Linked DNA regions of Homo sapiens: region 2 is linked to region 1. Evidence: promoter capture Hi-C in 16 types of primary human blood cells and fetal thymus (Javierre and others, 2016). All regions are on one chromosome and are shown on one strand. The core of a region is centred on a gene start or on the middle of the fragment in contact, and the rest is flanking DNA. Distances in the headings are between cores, read along the strand shown. Region 1 holds the start of TRAPPC2 (trafficking protein particle complex subunit 2). Region 2 holds the start of AP1S2 (adaptor related protein complex 1 subunit sigma 2).

The links. The method cuts DNA at HindIII sites, captures the fragments that hold promoters and counts their contacts. A CHiCAGO score of 5 or more calls a contact.
Region 2: a contact is called between the fragment with the promoter of AP1S2 here and the fragment with the promoter of TRAPPC2 in region 1, in 1 of 17 cell types (non-activated CD4 T cells). The highest score is 5.5, in non-activated CD4 T cells.

Annotation. Positions count from the first base shown.
Region 1 is chrX:13,732,571-13,736,055 of GRCh38, reverse strand. TRAPPC2 (trafficking protein particle complex subunit 2) reads left to right here and starts at 1,436. Exons shown (of 6, transcript NM_001011658.4): 1 at 1,436-1,531; 2 at 1,871-2,012. It overlaps OFD1 (OFD1 centriole and centriolar satellite protein), which reads right to left and starts at 1,308. Exons shown (of 23, transcript NM_003611.3): 1 at 973-1,308; 2 at 710-808. The coding sequence starts at 984. RefSeq lists enhancers at 395-966, 735-1,934. The HindIII fragment of the contact is 7,868 bases long and covers 1-3,485 here.
Region 2 is chrX:15,853,094-15,856,571 of GRCh38, reverse strand. AP1S2 (adaptor related protein complex 1 subunit sigma 2) reads left to right here and starts at 1,759. Exons shown (of 6, transcript NM_001272071.2): 1 at 1,759-1,884. RefSeq lists silencers at 1,343-1,452, 1,543-1,822, 2,043-2,332 and an enhancer at 1,121-1,725. The HindIII fragment of the contact is 8,276 bases long and covers 1-3,162 here.

The DNA of each region.
Region 1 (3,485 bases), core at 187-2,686:
TACAAAAATATCCAAAGATAAGCCTGTTGCCACTGAAAATGAAGATTTCAAAAAACTTTTAAGGAAACAGGGAAATGCTCACCATATAATTTAAATTAAAAAAGGATACATACACAGGATATAGCTACATATTTTAAACGTAAAATATGCTTTTGAAATGCATATTTCAATGAAAACACGTTGAGCTAATCCTACTCCTGGCTGTTAATCCAAATATAAAGCATACTAATAGGTATTTTCTGCCCAAACTAAACATTCATACATTTCAATATAGTTTAAAGATAAAATTTTTCATTTCCCAAACTATTATTAAGCAGTACACTAGTATTTTCTATATGGTGTCAATGTCCTTCATCCAAATGTATTACAAACCCACTTATTAATTTAGGAACCTATAAGCCATATTTATAAAACAAGCCTAATCTTACTGTGTTCATTATACAAATATTTCCTTCTCCTATCTTATTGTCAGTTCAATTAATTATTTGAATATGCTCCTTTAAGACGACTCAAACTCAACATTTTCTCAAACATTTTCAAGAGACTGTAATGTTTCAGGATACAGAGTTATTCGGGAATATAAAAATGTAATTCACCAATACAATCTATGTATCATACGATTATTAAAACCTAAACCTTGATTGAATTTGAACTACCTGTTACAGGTTACACTTGTAAAAGCTGACACAGATACGCCTAAATCCGATACCTTGAGTGTATCCAGTATACCCCGATCCTTAAACGTCTGGTATAGCTTTTTGCGCAGTTCATCTTGACTCAACACATCAGCCACGGTAAACATGTTGGACTAAAAGACAAAATGGTTATAGGTTACCTGCGGGGCAGAGGGAACGTGAACGTCTGAAAACAGACCAGTGGCCTCCGGGGAAGCCATAAGAGGCCTAGCGGCGAAAGTTTAACGAACACAAAACAAGACTTTATTTCCGCCCGAGAAGGGGCAGGTGTGTCTACCTGCGCCATCATCAGGCGTCAGCTCCCTCCGGAGCCCGCCTCGCTCGCCCCGCCGCGGCCCGAGTTTAGTGCCCAGCCCGGGCGGTGGGGCCAAGACGAGGGGGAATCCCTGCCCTCAGAACCCTGCCTCTGTCCCGAGGGTTCGGGAGGAACAAAGGTGCTGAACGTTCTCTGCCTCGCACTCCCAACTAGGTTTTCTAGCAAACACGCGAGCTTCCTTTCTTCGCGGTTCTGAGGCAAGGGCGAGGACCCAGGCACGACTCAAAGGCGGCTGGAGGGCGGGGACCCAGACACTAGGGACTGAAGGCAGCGAGGCAGGACCGCCTCACAGCCAGTCCGGCAACTTCCGGAAACCTGCTAAATATAGCCTTCCCGAGCTGAAGAGCTACGGCGCATGAGCTTGGTTGCCCAGCACCGGCCGGAAGCTCCGCCTACGTATCGCGAGAGCACATCCCAGGGTATCGCGAGAACTGCTTCGGCGTTCTGGCTACAGGTTCGGGGCGCGGGTCTCTTCCGCGGAAACTGACATTGCGTTTCCGTTGTCGGCCTCCCACTGCAGGTAGGGAATGGAGCAAGTGCGGCGGGGGGCGGGTGTTTTGAGTCCCTGGAGGACTTCGTAGCCCCTGCGTGACGCGGATGTTGGTCCTGTACCTCCACCCCTCCCCGGGGTGGCCGGGCCGGACCTGCCAGCCCTCCGCTGGCTCATCCGCGCAGCCCTTCCACCTGCAGACGTCCGCCCTCTCGGGGGCTGTGGTTTCGCGGTTCACTGGGTCATTCAGCTAACCCAGGGTTTCTTAACGGCTGCACTGTTGCCTTTTGGAGCCGGAAGATTCTTTGTTTTGGGAGGCTGTCCTGTGCATTGTAGGTTTAGCTGTATCCTTGCTCTCTATTTTGTCAGTATCACCTTCTCCCCCAAGTGTGACAACCAAAGATGTCTCCAGATATTGCCAGATGTCCTCTTGGAAGCAAGATCGCTCCGGGTTGAGATCCACAGAGCTAAACGTTTTAGAGTACCAACCATTGTGTGCTGTGAGGTAAAGGTGAGCCAGTCCTCATGATGCTTAAATGTAATTAGAAAGGAAAGGAACCAAACCTCTCAGAAGCGATAATGAAAATGTTACAGCCAGAGAATTGAACAAGAACTAAGATACATTGTAGACTGGATAAAGAGTTTAAAGGGGAGGTGGTTGAAGATGGAAGTGATCCAGATCATCTCTGTGGAAAAAGTGTGTCTTTATCGGGGCCTTGATGGGTAGGATTCGGGTGGTGAGCAAAAAGGAGAACATCACAGGAAGGGGAAAAATGAGCAAAGGAATCATTAAAAGAAAAAAAAAAGCCACGACCTTCTTGGGAGCAGTGAGGAATCTAGCCTGACTCCAGAGTTGTGTGCTGGGAATATAAGCCTTATATGGTATCTAAGTCCTGTGAGGACAGAATTGGATGTCAGCTTTGTGTACAGCATTGAAGATGAGTACGATGAGTTTTGATCTCTGGCTGTGAAAAACTTAAAGTATTTAAGAGGCAGTAAGAGTGACAGGACTTCATAGGAGGTGGAGAACCTGTAAGTTTTTGTTGGAAACAATGGAAAAGGAGGAGAGGCTTAGTTGGATTTTAAAGGATGGGTAGTGGTTGCAGACAGAATAAAGGAGAACATTCCAGGCATGAAGAGAGAAATGATAGTAGCTCTGAACTCGATATAGTCAAAGTGAATTTGGGAGAAAAAATAAGTAAACGAGTCAACGCTAGCAGAGGTGGAACAATAGGGCTGAGAAAAGACACGTGGAGCAATGTGGGAATCTTGAATACTAGTACATGATCCTGTAGCTGAGATGCATCAAAGGCTTTTGAGTGGAATGATGAAAACAGTGTTCTAAAAAGATGTTGATATGTTGTAAATGTTGTTAAGTAGAATCACTTGTCCACTGTTTAAAAAAAAAAAATGTTCCTGAAGACCCCCTTACTCCCACCTCCACCTTTGGTCCCACAGTTGAATACATGAATATAATTAGATAAAATGTTCTCCAAAAACTAGCATAACTTCTAGGGGAGGGAGAATTGCTTATAATATTAATAGAAAAATGTCACATTAAAGACCTATCAGTAGTATTCCTACTGCCCCTCCTCATTGTAATAGACATGTCCCATGCCATACCAGTTTAGTCTCATGACCCCAGGTTTATGGAACAACTGAAATCACTGCTCTCGCGAGCACAGGGCAGTTTTTCTAGAAGCTCTTCTATAGAGGTTGTAAAGAGGCATGCTACAAAAATGGATGTCTTTGGAACTGGAGTCCATGAGTTTTATCTTGCATTTGTCTACAACTTAAGAGACTTCCAAGTTCACTGAGCATCCTCCCACTCTGGCACTGTTGGTGTTCCACCCACCCCTTAGTTTCTAGTTTCCCAGTGACTTCAAATGAGCAGCCCTGGGCTTGGCCTATGGAACGGTTTGGAATAAGTCTGTGTAGTCCAGAGTCAGCAAATACTTGGCCCTCCTGTAGGTACTGCACTTCC
Region 2 (3,478 bases), core at 510-3,009, 2.1 Mb before region 1:
GAGCTATCTTTTAACTGGTTAATGGCATCTGTTTCTTGTAGTAAGAGAGAAATGGGACATTCGAAAGCACCTTTGGGGCATGACTAGGTAGGGAGAAATCTGGTGGGGGCGAGGGGGACCTAAAGAACTACAGAAAGCCAGCTCTGTGCCGTGTGTCGTCCCCTTTCTTTAATATTCCAGTATACATTAATCATACATGTTAGTAGGAAACTTTCCAAGCAGCACAGTAGTGCTTGAAAAGGGGAAGTATTACACATTTCTTTTTGTTTTGTCATACAAAAGCATTTTTTAAAAGCCCCCAAAACTACTGTCTTAGTTTCATAGATACTATAATGTACACAAAAAGAATATAATCCCTAATAAAGGATTCCTTTACATTGATTACATTTAGCTTCGTGAAAATTTTAGCATTTCTTTTTTTACTTTAGGCCATTAAAAAAATTCTGGCGACTATACTTAGGAACCTCTGCAAAAGGGGCATGGCCCAACAAAAGCAATTTTCTCGCTTCCTTTGTAAGAACCTAGGTGACTCGGGTAATGAATAGCATTTCGATATGGGAAACCCGTGGCTCTTCAAGGAAGGTCACCTAATCCCGTGGGACTCCCCTTTCCTTATCTGTAAATGACTAGATGATTCATCCATTCTATCATTCAGAAAATTATGAACATCCATTATGCCCAGGCATTACGCTCAGCATTACAGCTCTTAACAAATTTATCATTTTATAGTCTTTATCAGTCAACTCACATTTATTAGTTGTTATATACCAGGCTGTGAACTAGATTGAGATGCAAAATGAATACAATTTAAGGTGTGCTAAATAAAGGCTAACGGGCATGTGGGTGAAAGAGGGAATCGCTCTTACAGGGTTTTAGGGTGAGGCTTCATAGATGTGACATTTGGGAGCAAGGACATGCCAGGCACAGCAAGTCGTCGGCAGTGCTAAACTGGAACCCAGGCGGCTGGTGGGGCGACCCAGTGTGAAGGAAGCGGGATCTCGAAGGTGAGGTGCTGTCCGGGCTTTTCAGCCGAACGGACGGTAACTCATCCAGTCCGCAGCACCGAGGATGGGCGAGGCGAGCCCAGGGAACAGACTCCCGCGAAGCTCGGGGCGGAAGGTGTCTGGGCTAGGGCTGGAGCAGTGCAATGGGAAGGAGAGGGCGGATTCCGGACAATTTTGAGGCAGAATGATAGCAAAAGGCCCGTGAATGCGTGACGAGCTCCACAGAAGAGCTGACTTGTTTTTCCAGAGTTGCAGCACTCCCTCGTCTCCTCCCACCCTCCTCGTCAGCCGTCACACTTCACACTTCCTCTCTGGGGACACAGAGAATCATTAGAGCTCGAACGTGGCTCTTCGCTGTCCGGAACTTCCCTGCCCCGCACCACCCGCTAGGCTAAGGACGCTGCAGAATCCCGTCCTCCTATCATTAAACAAGCAGGACAGCCGCCCGCGCGCGTCCCGGAGGCACCTGCAAGAGCGCGCGGGCGCGCGGGCGCTCGGGCCCGGCAAACGCCGCTTCCGGGTCACGTGGCCCGGCTTCCGGTTCGCACCTCCCCTCAGCGAAGAAACCTCCAATCGGCTGCCTTGGACTCAGCGGTTACCCGCGCTGCCTCCGGTGCCGCTGGCGACCGCTGAGCCGCTTCCCGCGCGTCGCCTAGCCCGCCCCTCAGCTCGCCGCAGCCCCGGCTCCTCCCTCGTCCGGCCCCCGGGGCGGGGTCTGTCAGCTTGCCCTCCCCTCTCCGCCTAAGCCTGCCCTATGCCAGCCGGGTGTCCTCCCCACAGCACCACGGCTTCTCTTCCTCAGCACGGCGACAGGGGCTTCCCCTTCGCCGCCGCCGCCGCCGCCGGCCAAGCTCCGCCGCGCCCGCGGCCCGCGGCCGCCGTAAGTCCCTGGGGGCGAAAGGGGGCGCCGGGGATGGGGGAGAGGGGGAGGGAGGACTGGGCGCGCCCCCCGCCACCCCGCGCGCGCCCCGACGACCCCACCCCGAGCCTGCCCGGCCCGCCACTGGGTCGCCGCGCCCGCAACTCACTTCTCTCCGTGTCCGCGCCCTCCGCACCACTCCGCGCCGCGCCCGGGGATGTGGGGGCCAGTCCCGGGCTCCGCGACAGCCTCGCGGCACCTGTGGTTCGGGAATCGCCTCAAGTTTTGCGGGGCGCTTTCGGGAGGGGCCGGGGGCGGTGGCGGCCGAGGACTCTTGGCGCCCCCTGCGCGGCGGCGGATGCCATTGTCTGCTCCGCTCCTTGCCTGTCACCTCTCCCGGGCTTGGTCAGTGATGGAGTGTGGCCACGGGAGTGGGGGGGAGGCACCGGCGACGGCCGGACCCGAGGAACGCTGGCCCCGAGCCCGCGCCGCGGCTGAGCCCATTGTTTTTAATGCCAGTCTCGAGGAATTGTGGTGCCCTGTGATTTGCGGCAAAATCAAAGCGTTGGTTTTTAACACGAGGGAAGGAATACTCGTGCTTTGCAACCGGGTTTCGTCCCATGTTAGGACATAATTTATTTTAAGGAGAATACATTGTTTTTTCGTCCTGCAAAGTGGTAGGGCGGATACAGGACCCTGCTCCAGACAGCCTTGAGCCCATACTCTTCGCAGGCAAACCCTCACCCTTTCTGGTCACCAAGATCTAGGAATACGAGGTCCATTCTTTTCCAAGTTCTGGTAACGGGTTTGCAGTAAATGCCCAGTTGATGCTTCACTTCCTGCCCCCTTCGAATGCCGCTATCTTCAGGACTTGCACGGGAGGCACTTTGGTATCACCTAATAATGTCCTTATATTTTGTTCCCCTGACGCATTTTAAGTGAGGTAATAAGACCATTTTAACTTTACTAAAGTTGAATTGCCACGTCATACATTTCTAGATATCTTGTTGATACCTTTTTGGGTGGTTACAAAAAGCGACGATAATTTCTTACCGAAATTTAGGGCCCATTTTTATTCTACATTGGTTCTGTAAATTTCCCCTCCCCGTGTTCAAATTCAAGATGGTGTGGTGAATCTTGAGAATCATGCTTGAATCTTATTTGCAGTAACGCTGTTAAAGGAACTTAACAGTGATTAAAAGAAAAAAGGATACCTATGTGAATTCTGCCTTTAAATTACCTTTGTAGAAACAATACTTCTGTTTGCAGTTGAGATGACCAATTGGATTACAAAAAGCTTGGCGTTAAAAATGAAACATGCAGACTAATCAACACATTTGCAGATCACAAATAAATACATACAAATTAGTTTAAGTATAAAACACACTAGAATTCAGCATCCATTCCATCTGTAGATACTATTTTTTATTTTAAATGAAGTATTTCATGTAATGTTTCAATGCTGAATCTTATTTAATAAGTGTAAATCTTATTGTGGCCTTTTAAACGTTTGTTTTCTTTTTCATAATACATTAACTCAGTTCTAGATTTTGTACATATTTAAGTTGGAATGCTTTAAAAGTCAGATGAAAACATACTTTTTTATTAATGAAAA